2 separate regions of the Homo sapiens genome follow, and region 2 is linked to region 1. Evidence: promoter capture Hi-C in human tissues and cell types (Jung and others, 2019). All regions are on one chromosome and are shown on one strand. Each heading gives the region's core, a stretch centred on a gene start or on the middle of the fragment in contact. The rest is flanking DNA. Distances are from core to core; before and after follow the strand shown.

Region 1 (7,265 bases), core at 2,894-5,393:
ATTATTTGGATGAGATATGTGGAAGAGTTGGCATTCCTGATCATGGTTTGTTCTTTACTATTCTATTGGCCTCTAACATATAACACAAATATGACTCGCATCAGCATGTCTTTCTTTACCATATCATCTAGAAAGGTAAGTTCCCTTCTTCCTTTTGGGTCAAATTCATTTTCCTGAAGTCTGATGCCAATATAATCTCTGCTTAAAAGCAAGAGATGAATATGAATTCACATATATGTGCATACACATATATGTGTACACGTGTACTATATATGAATTCACATATATGTGTATACATGTATATATGTACATATATGTATATTCATAGTTTCTTCTAGTATTTCTTAAAGGCTTGTTAAAATAAAATTATCTTAGGAGGCCGAGAAAAGATATTTGATGGGGATGGTGATAAGCTCTTTGATGAAAAGGCTATTACTGTTTTGTCTATAACACATATGACATAGAACATAATCTTTCTTTTTTCTTTTTATATGGTTTGTGATCTTTCACCAACATTTGTTAAGTACAAGTCAAAGAAACACTGCCATGGGAGGAAAACATTTCTTTCACAGGAAACTTGATGTTTTCTGTGTTCGTTTTAAAAATGTTCAGATGTAAAGAAAAAGGAGATGAATTTCTTAGTTGATAAGGCTGACAATAAAAGAGGCAGAGCAGAGGCTGCAATTTAGATTCTGGGCCCTTTCAGGAATCTCTCTTATACCTTTTACCAGCAGGGCCAGCCCCTTTCAACGGTGTATCTTGCCTACACAGGCTGACTGGGACATAGGCTCAGCTCTCAGGCTCTAGAATGTGGATGCCTCGGATGTGCAGGCTGCCAGCAGAAACATCCTCCCAAGTGTTTCAGCATCCTGCCTCGCACCACAGGTGAGGCCTCCCTGGCAGGAAACCGAGAGAGGCCAGATCATCCTCTGGTTTTCTCCTACCATGCAGAAATAGATTCTTAGATTTTTACCCACTGCCAATACCCAAGCCATCTATGACATGAAATCCACCGAATGCCAAGTGTCATAAATGAAAGTTATTCTCAGTCATACTTACAAGAGCTTTTTCATTTCCTTCTTTATGAGCCTTCTTTCCATGTTAAAGGCTTAGCCAGCTGAGCAGGTATCTGCAGCTAACACTACACTTAGACCCAGCTTCTCTGAGTCTAGAGGCTACAGCAGCAAATCAGAGAGAATATGAGTTAGGGATGCTATCACTCCAAATACCAGTCATGGAGTCCTAGGCTCTGGAAGGGATCTGAGGGAGCACCTCATTCAGGCCTCTTACTCGGCAGGTTCAGGGTCAAAAAGCCACCTGGAGGCTCATGCACTGTACTTTTGTGTTTATTTGACACCTTTTATTCCTTCCAAATTTTTCCAACACTTATTTACTTAATTTACTCTTCCTTGCAATAATCTAGCAAGTAAAACCAAAATGGTTTGTGTAATAGCTGATGAGACTATTCGGGCAGAACCATCCAAACTAGATGGATGTGATCCATCTAGATCTGAATGTGTTTGGGTTTTTCTGTGAGCATTCAACTCCCAGTGAGTTCACCCTGGCTCAGTGGCTCATAATGGAGTTTTCCATAGAATCCATCTACACTCTCCTATTGCCAGGAGATCCTTGAAAGAAAATATGGTTATGGGAAATATGTCTTCAATTCCCACCCCCACATTGAACCAGAAATTGAAGATCAGGTGATGGGGTCAAAAGGAGTCTGAAGTCACCAAAAAGGAGTCTATAGAAAATCATCACTATTGAATGGGGTACACAGGGAGAGGTATAAATAGGGTATCAACTCTATTTGTGATGTTTTATTTATTTTTAAATTTATTTTATGGTTGGGCCTCTATGATCAAATAGTTGTTCAAACTTTATCCCGGATGTTTCTGGTGTTTTTTTTTTAATGAGATTATCATTTAAATCAGTGGACTTTGAAAGCAGATTGCCCTCTATCTGAGTGAGCCTTTTCCAATCAGTCGAAAGCCTTGATAGAACAAAAGACTGACCTCCCCCATGCAAGAAGGAATCTGCCAGTAGGCAGCCTTTGGATTCAAACTGCAACTCTTCCCTGAGTCTGCTGGCAGCTGGCCTCCTCTATCAGATTTTGGACTGGCCAAGACTCCACAATCATGTGAGCCAATTCTGTAAAATCAAAATATTTGAAAGAGATGGTTAAGCCTATACTGCACCGTGTGTGTGTGTGTGTGTGTGTGTGTGTGTGTGTGTGTGTGTATCCACACACATCCTGTCAGTTCAATTTCTCTGAGGAACCCTAATACTCAAATATAACAAAATGTTAATAGTTGTTGACTCTGGAATTCTAAGTCCATGGATGTTCATTATACTACCCTTTGTACTTTTAAAATTGTACGTATATTTAAATCACTACTCTAAAGATGATTGGAAAACAAACTTTAGAAACGGTTTTTTGAAAATGGTACCATATAAACACTAAGCTTCACTTGATTCAGCTCTACCAACAGTAAGCAGAGAGCCAACAGGATGGCGCTGATCTAAATGAATGCTTCCCTAGGCCACCTTCATTATTTTGGATTTTTTTTTTTTTTTTGAGACGGAGTCTCGGTCTGTCACCAGGCTGGAGTGCAGTGGCACAATTTCGGTTCACTGCAACCTCTGCCTCCTGGGTTCAAGTGATTCTCCTGCCTCAGCCTCCCAAGTAGCTGGGACTACAGGTGCACGCCACCAAGCCCAGCTAATTGTTTTGTACTTTTAGTAGAGACCGGGTGGTGTCATCATATTGGCCAGGATGGTCTCCATCTCCTGACCTTGTAATCCACCTGCCTCAGCCTCCCAAAGTGCTGGGATTACAGGCGTGAGCCACCGTGCCCAGCCATTTTGGATCATTCTTGCTGCTGCTACATCTGCTTTAGTTTTTGGGGAGTGGACGGGATGTGGATAAGATGAAAGTGGGGAAGAAAGTAAGAGCATTTCACAGGAAATTGATTAAGTATCAAGACAATAATATTGCTCCCTACAGAGTCAATGGGGAGAGGATGCAGCAAGCCATAGAGGTGGCCCTATTGCCTAGAGAAGAGAGAGCACTGGACCCAGGAAAGCCACACTCATTGATGTGGCTGTGCGTCTTCTGCTTCCCAGCCTCAGGTGTTATCCGAAAAAGATGGGCCTGGTTAACATTGCCAAGAGCACTTCTTACCCTAACATTCTGTAACTCTATAAAGTCTGGCATGCATTAAAATTCTTCTGATTCAATAGTTTGGAAAAACATTTGTTGCTAGACTATTTGGCCTATCTCAATTCCTTGGCAGGGAGTAAGGCACAGTTAGCATGTGCTTTAATCCATTCTTGTCTTGTAATTCTGAGAAAGCCCTTTGAGTTTCAGATTTACAAGTTATAATATTTGCATTGCTTCGTTGTTATGACAGCTTCGTCTTAGATCATCCCTCATCCTCCCCATCCCCTGCCCCCACCACCACCATTCAATATGGTATAATATGCAAAGGTTTCAGTCTTTAAAATATGAGTATGTCCCACTCCCAAACCACTAAACTGTAGGTCAGAAGACCCTGTGAGGCCACCAACTAGCTGTGCACCTTGAACAAATTAATTTGCCTATGTTTTTTCATTTCTTCCTCTGTAAAACAAGCGTTGAATGATTGGAGAGGTCCCTTACAGCTGTGGAAGTCAGTGATTTATATGCATTTAGTAGCTACGCCTGGTCTAAAGAAGGCCATTTGCATGGATTCTAATTCAGCTAGATTTGAATTCTGCCAGTTATCCCTCTTCTCTGTCTATAGAGCTCTAAAGAAAACAAGACCGCTGTGTGTTTTGTGTGTGGCTGAAAGCACACACAAAAGAGGTACTGGAAAGATGTCAGCTGTCTCAGGCTTTAGCTGTTTCATAGAAACAATTCCCTAGAAGTCAGAGCCCCCAAATTCTATAGGAATATCATTTCCTGGAGAATATCTGCACATTCCATGCAGGTTCCCTGCTGCACACCTGCAATCGTGGTACAGGTCTCTCGGGCTGTTCTATTAAGTGCCTGCTCTTAACAAATTCCCCTTTGAGAATCGCTCACCAACCGGAGACCGGTTCCAGTGCTTTTGTTCTTTCTCTGCTTCTGGAGGCATGCTGAAGCATCCGCGCATCTCAGACTGGTGCTCACAGACATCAGGAACACATGCTTTTTCCTGGTTGCTAGGAAACAGTGAATGAATTAAAATCATTTGTTTTAAAAATACACTCCCCTACGCCCACCCCCATTAAGGGTTGAGGGAGGGTGGAAAGTCATATATTTGGGACAGGATTGTGATCCTGGCCTGAAGTTCACGTGTCTTTTTACCTGAGTAGGCTTATGTTTCCCATCTAAATGATTAATTGAAAAACCAAGAGGATGGGAGGAGTTTACCTTCCCCAGAGTTTTTTATAGCATTTGGCTGCAGACATAGGAATCAATTGACTAAGCAAGGATTGCTGGGGAAGCTAGTGAAACTCTGGCTCCTACATAGTTAGGGTGCCCCAAAGTACCCAATGACCCAAAGATCATTCTACTCGATGAATGTCAATACAAAACAGTGGCAATCCTGAAGAAACATCACCTGGGTTCAAGCTAGCACCATCTTTCTAATTATAGATGAGATCCCTTTCATGTGCGTCTGTGTGAAGAGACCACCAAACAGGCTTTGTGTGAGCAACATGGCTGTTTATTTCAACTGGGTGCAGGCGGGCTGAGTCCGAAAAGAGAGTCAGCAAAGGGTGGTGGATTATCATTAGTTCTTATAGGTTTTGGGATAGGCGGTGGAGTTAGGAGCAATGTTTTGTGGGCAGGGGGTGGATCTCACAAACTACATGCTCAAGGGTGGGGAGAATTACAAAGAACCTTCTTAAAGGTGGGGGAGATTACAAAGTACCTGCTTAAGCGGGGGGAGATTACAAAGCACATTGATCAGTTAGGGTGGGGAAGAAACAAATCACAATGGTGGAATGTCATCACTTAAGACTATTTTTACTTCTTTTGTGGATCTTCAGTTACTTTAGGCCATCTGGATGTATATGTGCAAGTCACAGGGGATGTGATGGCTTGGCTTGGGCTCAGAGGCCTGACAATCCCTGCCCACACGCCTGCCTCCTAGTCTTAAACACTTGCTCCCTTGCTTAAAGCTTGTTAATGGTTTCTGTCTGTGTCTCCTCTATACCACTAGACTAGGGGCAGAGTTTGTTCTTCTGGCCCATCTACGGCTGGGTGTCTGTTATTGACACCTCTTAATCTTTATTTCCACTCCTTTCCACTGGCCAAGTAAGTCACTTGATTACCTGAGGTCATATTATGAAAGACACTAACAAAACCCTAGATATAGAATTTTCTAAACTAGTTGTTCACTCCATATTGAGTTTATATTGTACCTAGACACTTCCGGGTTTGGTGAGCCTGAAGTTTATACATTATGGGGACCGTCTTTAATAAAAAGAATGCAGAATTGTAAATATGAAACTAATACAAAATTGTATGTTTATTTAGAACTATTAATTACAAGTTACAAATTTTAAAGAGCTGAAAAATACCACAAACAAAAAATCAGTATTAATATTTTCATGATTACTAACTGCCTAACATACACTAAAATTCCTTTTTTTCTTACATACTCTTTGATTATCTGTTAATAGGACCAAGGTTTCATAGTATTTTCTATAGAGAGAATTAAAAAATAATTCAGTCTCTCCTCTACTATGACTGTTTACTTTTATTTATTTATTTATTTATTCATTTTTTTGAGATGGAGTTTTGCTCTTGTTGCCCAGGCTGGAGTGCAATGGTGTGATCTTGGCTCACCACAACCTCCGCCTCCCGGATTCAAGCGATTCTCCTGCCTCAGCCTCTGGAGTAGCTGGGATTACAGGCATGCGCCACCACGCCCGGCTAACTTTGTATTTTTAGTAGAGACAGGGTTTCTCCATGTTGATGAGGCTGGTCTTGAACTCCCGACCTCAGGTGATCTGCCCGCCTCGGCCTCCCAAAGTGCTGGGATTACAGGCGTGAGCCACCGCACCCAGACAATTTTTTATTTTTTAATTAATTTTTTTTTTTGTAGCAATGAGGTCTCACTATGTTGCCCTGGCTGGTCTCAAACTCCTGGGCTCAAATGATCCATCTGCCTTGGCCTCCCAAAGTGCTGGGATGACAGGCATAAGCCACCACGCCCAGCCATTTTCAATTTATTCTAATATTTTGTTTATAATTAAAACTAAACTGTAGGCTGGGTGTGGTAGCTCATGCCTGTCATCCCAGCACTTTAGGAAGCTGAGGTGGGTAGATTGCCTGAGCCTAAGAGTTCAAGATCAGACTGAGCAACATGGCAAAATCCTGTCTCTACAAAAAATGATAAAAACTAGCTGGGCATTGTGGTGTGTCCCTACAGTCCAAGCTACTCAGCAGGCTGAGGTGGGGGGATTGCTTGAACCCAGGAGGCTGAGGCTGTAGTAAGCTGTGATTACACCCCTCCACTCCAGCCTGGGTGAAAGAGTGAGGCCCTGTCTCAAAAACAAACAAACAAACAAACAAACAAACAAACAAACCAAAAAAACAGAAAATAAACTGAGTTATTTTTCTTTTTGACTCCCTATTGTTGATACCTCATTATAAGGTGTTCCACAATTTCTTGATCAAGAGAGCTTTTCACCCAAAGGCAACCTTGGAGAACTTCAACCTTGACCTTGCTAGGCTTGTTCATCCCTGTTAACTCCCTTACCCCTGCCCCCAGCTGAGGCTGCTGCAGCTGGTCCAACTCAGCCAAGTGTTCATCGATCCCAATAGTCACCTTCCCAGCTTCAGTCCTTGAAGGCAAATAGAAGGTCCACGTGTGCAGTGGTCTATCAGGGGCTGGTCATTGCTAAGACTCACATTGATGGAGGTAGTGATGGCAGTGTGCCTATCCCGATGCCATGCCAGTGAGTCAGGAGTTGGGCAGGACTGGTTTTACAAGGTACAGATCACAAAGACCCGGCTGATAAAATGATATGTAGTAAAGAAGCCAGTCAAAACCCGCCAAAACCAGATGGCGATGAAAATGACCTCTAGTTGTCCTCACTGCTCATTATATGCTCATTATAATATATTAATATGCTAAAAGATACTCCCACCAGCACCGTGAAAGTTTACAAATGTCATGGCAACGCCTGGAAGTTACCCTATATGGTCTGAAAGCAGGAGGAATTCCCTCAGTTCCAGGAATTGCCCACCCCTTTCCCAAAAAACTAATGAATAATCCATCCCTTGTTTA
Region 2 (7,179 bases), core at 1,375-3,874, 45 kb after region 1:
GGGGAAATATTTATTATGTAATATTGAAGTAGATGATGGGTCACTTGTTAATATTGTAGAAGGATTTTATGTATCAAGCAAGAACACAAGGGAGCTGTGATTCTGACTGCTAAGATTAAATTTTAAATATTTTCAGTTAGAAATTCTTCCTAAGAAACAGTACCTACAATTTAGAGTTTTGAAGTCTGGAACTCATATGTTCCCTGTCCCTGGATCCTGCTGCCTTCAATGTTGTGCTAAAGAGCAGTCATTTTCTAGGTCAACAATTCTGACCCTCTAGTTGTTACATAATAAACCATCAGCCTCTGAATGTATTGGTCAGCATCTGTTCATTTGCTAATTATTTTAGAACATTAACTGGTTCTTGGCCAAATGCTGATCCTGATAGACATTAGGCCAAATGTTGATCTGCACTCACCAGATCAACTCTGAGGATGCTTGTGAGTGCTGGAGGAACTATTTAAAATCACCCAGTCCAATGCCATCATTTTGTTGTATGTGATGCTTTCATCTCCTACCCAAACCTGAAATGTGAGTCCCAAGTTCTGGTCCAAAATGGCCACTGATGTATTTTGCAACTTTGGTAAAAGTAGTAGAAACAAAACACTTTTTTTTTTTTTTTTTTGGAGACGGAATCTCACTCTGTTGCCCAGGATGGAGTGCAGTGGTACAATCTCAGCTCACTGCAACCTCCGCCTCCCCGGTTCAAGGGATTCTCCTGCCTCAGCCCCCTGAGTAGCTGGGACTACAGGTGACCACCACCATGCCTGGCTAATTTTTGTATTTTTAGTAGAGACGGGGTTTCGCCATGTTGGCTAGGCTGGTCTTGACCTCAAGAGATCCGCCTGCCTCAGCCTCCCAAAGTGCTGGGATTACAGGTGTGAGCCACCATGCCCGGCCCAAAACTCTTTTAAAATTTATTAAAATCTTGTTAATGAAAGAGGAAATGGATGCTCTAACAGTTATGAAGAGTTTACCAGGCAAAAATCTGAAAAAAGAGTAATAAGTTTATTTTTTAAAATTTTTATTATTTTTTTGAGATGGAGTCTCATTCCGTTGCCCAGGCTGGACTGCGGTGGCATAATCTTGGCTCACTGCAACCTCTGCCTCCCAGGTTCAAGTGTTTCTCTTGCTTCTGCCTCCTGAGTAACTACAACCACCACGCCTGGCTAATTTTTGTATTTTTAGTAGAGATGGGGTTTCACCATGTTGGCCAGGCTGGTCTCGAACTCCTGACCTCAAGCCTCCTAAAATGCTGGGATTACAAGCATGAACCACTGTGCTCAGCTGAGTAATAAGTTTAGATGAGAGGAGGAGAGTGCAAAACACATTTTATTTGACAATTTTTTTTGGATGTAAAGTTTAAAATGTTAAAACAATTTGAATTTTATAAAAAGCCAAATATGTAATAATCTGAAGAACACTACATTTAACCAGTATATTGGACATCAAAGGGCTTTAAATATGTTTTTGGCTGGGTGCGGTGGCTCACGCCTGTAATCCCAGCACCTTGGGAGGCCAAGGTGGAAGGTTGGGAGTTCAAGACCAGCCTGGCCAACATGGTGAAACCCCATCTCTATTAAAAATACAAAAATTAGCCAGGCTTGGTGGCCGGCACCTGTAATCCCAGCTACTTGGGAGGCTGAGGCAGGTGAATTGCTTGGACCCAGGAGGCGGAGGCTGCAGTGAGGCAAGATCACACCGTTGCACTCTAGCCTGGGCAAAAGAGCAAGACTCCATCTCAGAAAAAAAAAAAAAAATCTATTTTCCAAAGAGAGAAAGACCTGTGGCCTTTTGGAAGAAAATATCAGCTCCACCTTTAAGTTAATTATTAATAACATCTCTAATTTTTTGCTTTCTCATAAAAAAATCAGTGCTATAGAGTCAACTTCTTAAGACTTTGGTGAGAATTAAATGAGATAGTATGAAGGCACATAAAAAGAATTTACATTCCTTTTCCTTATAATCCCAATCTATCCTATTAAAAAAACTTACAGGTATTAATGTTAAAATGAGTCATTGGCATGTCGTTATATTGAGGCAAAGACTAGTTGAATTTATCAGCAAAAAGCCACCAGAGAAACAACGATTATGTGTCTTGTATTCTAATTTACGTAGATCTCTATTCTTTTTACAAAACTACAGATAATATAGGTTATAAAATCTTTTACTGAAAAATCTTAAAAATCTTACATGAGATGAAAATATTTATTGCCTCTTTCTTGATGTTAACTAGAAGCAATGCTTTTTTTTTTTTCCTACCACCTGAGTGACCTGACACTGGTTGATCTCATGTGAAAATTGATTTTTATTTCCCTTGCCAGGAGAGCTCATGTGGTTTGGATTCTAACTTCAATTTGGCCAGGAATAAATTGCCCAAGCCACATGGGCCTCCCCTACTTCATGAGAATCTCCTCTCAACAGGGTGTTCTAGGACTGTGGGCTTGGATTTGGATGTATTTTGGGGGTAGCACTGAGGGAAATTGGTCAAAAGCTCATTCTGAATAAGCTCCATGCCATCGGATTCTGAAAGGCTCCATGTTTCATTGGGCCTTCAAGGGGATTTGTGTAGAGCAGTGTCTGGGGCCCAACTCCAAGCTTGCCAGGAAGGTAGACTAGAAATTACCAAGGGTCCCCACCCCAACTCACTGACTTCTGACGTGTGAGAGCGCAAAAGCTCACCAGGGCCTCCCTCCCAGAGATGCTAGGATGTGGAGCAGCCTTTCCCCAGGTGTGAAGCCAGAAAGTGGGAAGCATCTTTGACTTGCTGCTGTCCCTCCATCCCCACATATCCTTGGTCTTGCCAAGACCCATCCATTCAACTTCCTTATCCCAGGGATTATCCCGTTCTCTTCCTGGTGCCACTGTTCCAGTCAGATCTTCATCATTTCCCACTAAAGTATCGCAACAGCCTCCTAACTGGTCCTCCTTCCTCAACTGCACCCAACAGTCTCCTCCCCACCCCAAACCATCCATTCTTTTTTCGTTTTTTTGAGACGGAGTCTCACTTTGTCATCCAGGCTGGAGTGCGGTGGTACGATCTCAGCTCACTACAACCTCCACCTCTCAGGTTCAAGCGATTCTTCTGCCTCAGCCTCCCAAGTAGCTGGGACTACAGGTGTGCGCCACCACACCTGGCTAATTTTTGTATTTTCAGTAGAGATGGGGTTTCACCGTATTGGCCAGGCTGGTCTCGAACTCCTGACCTTGTGATCTGCCTGCCTTGGCCTCTCAAAGCCACTATCCATTTTTTATCAAAGTTTCCCAGAGTGCTATTTTTAAAAATAAAAATATGATCAAGTCCCTTATTTCTTAAAAGTCTTCATTGGCTCCCTAATCATTTATAAGATAATGACTAAACTCCTTAGCATGTGCATAGACATAATCTATTCTCTAATATTCCTTAATTCTTCCTGTAGTTCCCTCTTTGGTCCTCTTTCCTTTCACTGCAGGATCTACATCTTACTATTTACTTATCTATTTCCACCATGGTAAACTTTTTAAGAGCAGAGAATTTTTTCAGATTACACTCCTATGGCTAGGATGTAGCGTGGTGCTTGGCATCCAATAAACAGAAACGCAGAAGAATGGTAATTAGCACTTAATTTTAATTAAAATCAACAGTTCAGGAGAAGATAAGATAGTGTTTAATATCAATTTCTGAGAAATCACATTTATATAAAAGAAATAAAACAGGCCAGCAGAAGTCCAAAAAAGATTCAGCTTACATTATTGCACTTGGATGAAATATGCTATTTAGAGTAGTATAATATTCAGGCCAGGCCAGGAGGAGAAAGAGAAAAATGGAGAGGACAAACCTCCAGGTAGTATTTATTCCGGATTCCAAACTCTCCTGCGGCCTAAACAGTATTTAGTCTATTGGAAACATTCAGCAAGGTCTTTACAAAAATGACTGCAGTATCTTCAACACATTTGAGTTGCACTCCTACTTCGTTCCAGTCATGTGCAAGTTTAATGCACAGCTCTACCTCACAAAACGGGATATCTATGACACCAGAACTTCCCTGTGCCCAAGGTCATGGACAGGAGGGGAAGGCAGTGAATTTCTACTTTATGCATATTTTAGGGAGCAATACTGTGGCTATCATTTACCCTTTTGAGCAATCTTGATTTTGGTCATTTATAATTAGAACATGAGAAAAAGTGACAGTGAATACAAATGAGTACTAACCGAATTCCTAGGCTGGTACTAGAAAATAAAATAAAAATTGTAAAAAAGTCCCTTGCCATGTTCACAAAGGTGGCAATAACTGTATATATAAGAAAAAGGCTGTAAACTTATAGAAAAGATAAACTCTGGCTTCTAAACAAATTACAAAATTGATTTTGCCTTTATCCTTGAGTGTAACACAGAAAAATGTAAACCTGTAGACCTAGTTACCAAAAGACAATTATCCTTCTTAGCTCAGGTATGAACTTAAAGTTTGGCCTGAGCTAGTTTGATCTTCAAGTTTTCTCCAAGTTTATCCATGAACTCAAATGTATTCAAGTAGTCAGAACGTTGCACACTAACGGGAAGGAAAAAAAAAAGAAAATTTAGTTGGTCTCTGATATGGTAGCAGGTAGTGGTAAAGTCCTAGAAATGCTACTTAAAATAGTATTCTATTTGTTTCTGGAAGAAAACGCATTCATGTTAGTAAGCTACAAAATCTATAGACAATGACTATGTTCAGGGTTCCTGGGGCTGACCCAGGCTCAGTACTCAGGCTCTCTAGGCAACCGGCAGTAGAGACAGCCATACATACTCAGTTAGGTTTCTTGCTATGTAGCTTTGGGGGTGAAATTATCATTGAGTTTCGGTTCAGACTAATGCTGCTGAGACCAAAATCATCACACTTCTTCCTCATTCTTAAACATAACAAAACTTATTCAGGGCATAGCCAAACCTTTACCCACCTTCCCACAAACCGTTACATGTCCTTAAAAAAAGTTATAATGTTGTTATTTCTATCAGTGTCTTAAGAAAAACAAAAGACAGGCCGGGCCTGGTGGCTCACGCCTATAATCCCAGCACTTTGGGGGGCCAAGGCGGGTGGATCATGAGGTCAGGAGATGGAGACCATCCTGGCTAACAAAGTGAAACCCCGTCTCTACTAAAAATACAAAAAAAAAAAAAAAAAAATTAGCCGGGTGTTGTGGCACAAGTCCCAGCTACTTGGGAGGCTGAGGCAGAAGAATCACTTGAACCCAGGAGGCGGAGGTTGCAGTGAGCGAAGATCACGCCACTGCACTCCAGCCTGGGCAAAGCGAGACTCTGTCTCAATAAAAAGAAAAAAAAAGAAAAACAAAAGACAGGATAACATAATCCTGCTGACAGGTGCCTGTTAAATAGGCTACAAAGGTATTCCACTGATAAGACCATTTTGAACACTGCAATCTTTTTTTTTTTTTTGAGATGGAGTCTCGCTCTGTCACGCAGGCTGGAGTGCAGTGGCACCATCTCGGCTCACTGCAAGCTCCGCCTCCCAGGTTCACGCCATTCTCCTGCCTCAGCCTCCCGAGTAGCTGGGACTACAGGTGCCCGCCACCACGCCTGGTTAATTTTTTGTATTTTTAGTGGAGATGGGGTTTCACTGTGTTAGCCAGGATGGTCTTGATCTCCTGACCTCGTGATCCACCCACCTCGGCCTCCCAAAGTGCTAGGATTACAGGCATGAGCCACAGCACCCAGCGAACACTGCAATCTTGTTGGAAATTTAAATTAAGAAACATGCAGTGACCAAGTATATCCCCATTATGGGGTATACTGACCCTACCTGGGACCTCTGCAGATGCACTGGTTGAGATATGGAGACAATCCCCCCAGGATACTGGCTACTATGTTCTCAGAAAAATTCTCAGTAAACATATGGGCTGTCAAATATTTGCCCAAATATTGGTTACAGATACTTAAGGGACTGTAATCAATTGCACACCTTAAACTTGTGCTGCTCACTTTTCTCATCAGTAAGTTAAAGAAAATAAAGGAGTAGAATAAAATAGCCTCTGAAGTATCTTTGTTTCTATTTGTCTATAATCTGCTTCTTAAAATTAAATAGAACCTTTTCGTTCAATGATTATCAACTAGATGGGATGTCAGCAAATTACAGCCCAGCACATGAACCAAATCGAGGCTGGTTTTGAACATAAAAGTTTGATTGGTACCAGCCACACCATTTGATTCTGTATTGTCTATGACTGCTTTCCTGCTACAATGGCAGAGGCAAAGTTGAATAGTTGTGTAGTTGCAAAAAGACTATATGTTCCACAAAGCCTAAAATGTTCACTATCTGACAATTTACAGATATCTGCTGACTCCTGAACTAGATGATGAATAACAATTTATATAATTCCAGAAAGCACCGATGCTCTGAGCCCAGTGAGGATAAGTGTTAATTTGACCATAGAAACTAGGGCATCTTATACTTACTTGGGTAAACCTTTAATGCAAGCAGCCAAGTCCTTGGTCATGAAGCCAGCCTCAATTGTCTCAATAGAGACTTCTTCCAAAGCATTTGCAAAGAAGGCAAGCTCTTTATTGTTATCAAGCTTTGCTCTGTGGGCTAACCCTCTGGTCCAGGCAAAAATGGAAGCTAAAAGAGGGGAAAAAAAACACAACACTCCAATCATCCTAGTTATAGAGGTTTCCAAATGTCTCATAGTTCCCCAAAACAGAATAGTTTTTTGTTTAGGTGACAGACTTCTTTAGATACTAACCACATGGGCTAGAAGTTTTAGGAGAGTTAGAAATATTTTACCAAACAGAAACTTTAAAAAAACACATTTTCATGGCATGGTACTAGTGTTTGAAACTTAAGGCATTTTCTAATTTGAAAAAGGTCACAATCTCTTCTATCTCTTGTCTATATTGGTCTCCTTTTTCCAGGCTGTAATCTCTTTTTGAAGTGCTATCTTTGAAACTTGTTAAAAGGATCTATCCATGTGACTTTTAGATTTGTAGCCTTATGTGACATTTCACTGCACCAGAGGTAAAGGAAAATGCTTGTTGATAACATTCCTCTCTGTAACCTATGTTCTCCCACAAAACAGAAAAGCAAATATTGTATATTTTAAGAAGCATATTCAAATAGATCTTACTAGTAGAACAAATCAGCTACTTGGTGATGACTTTGCACACAAAACACTGAGCAGCCAAGGGAACACATCTGGGCTGCTTTG

Evidence for each region. The method cuts DNA at HindIII sites, captures the fragments that hold promoters and counts their contacts. A contact is called where the count stands out against the background at its distance.
Region 2: a contact is called between a fragment that was not itself captured here and the fragment with the promoter of C2orf80 in region 1, in 3 of the 25 tissues and cell types used here (mesendoderm cells, spleen and thymus).

The regions. Positions count from the first base shown.
Region 1 is chr2:208,185,887-208,193,151 of GRCh38, forward strand. C2orf80 (chromosome 2 open reading frame 80) reads right to left here and starts at 4,144. Exons shown (of 9, transcript NM_001099334.3): 1 at 4,067-4,144; 2 at 1,060-1,175. The coding sequence starts at 1,100. The HindIII fragment of the contact is 5,855 bases long and covers 1,176-7,030 here.
Region 2 is chr2:208,232,641-208,239,819 of GRCh38, forward strand. It overlaps IDH1 (isocitrate dehydrogenase (NADP(+)) 1), which reads right to left. Exons shown (of 10, transcript NM_005896.4): 9 at 6,431-6,593; 10 at 3,589-4,529. The coding sequence ends at 4,439. Among named protein-coding and RNA genes, the nearest start is that of IDH1, 19 kb to the right of the region's middle. The HindIII fragment of the contact is 3,898 bases long and covers 676-4,573 here.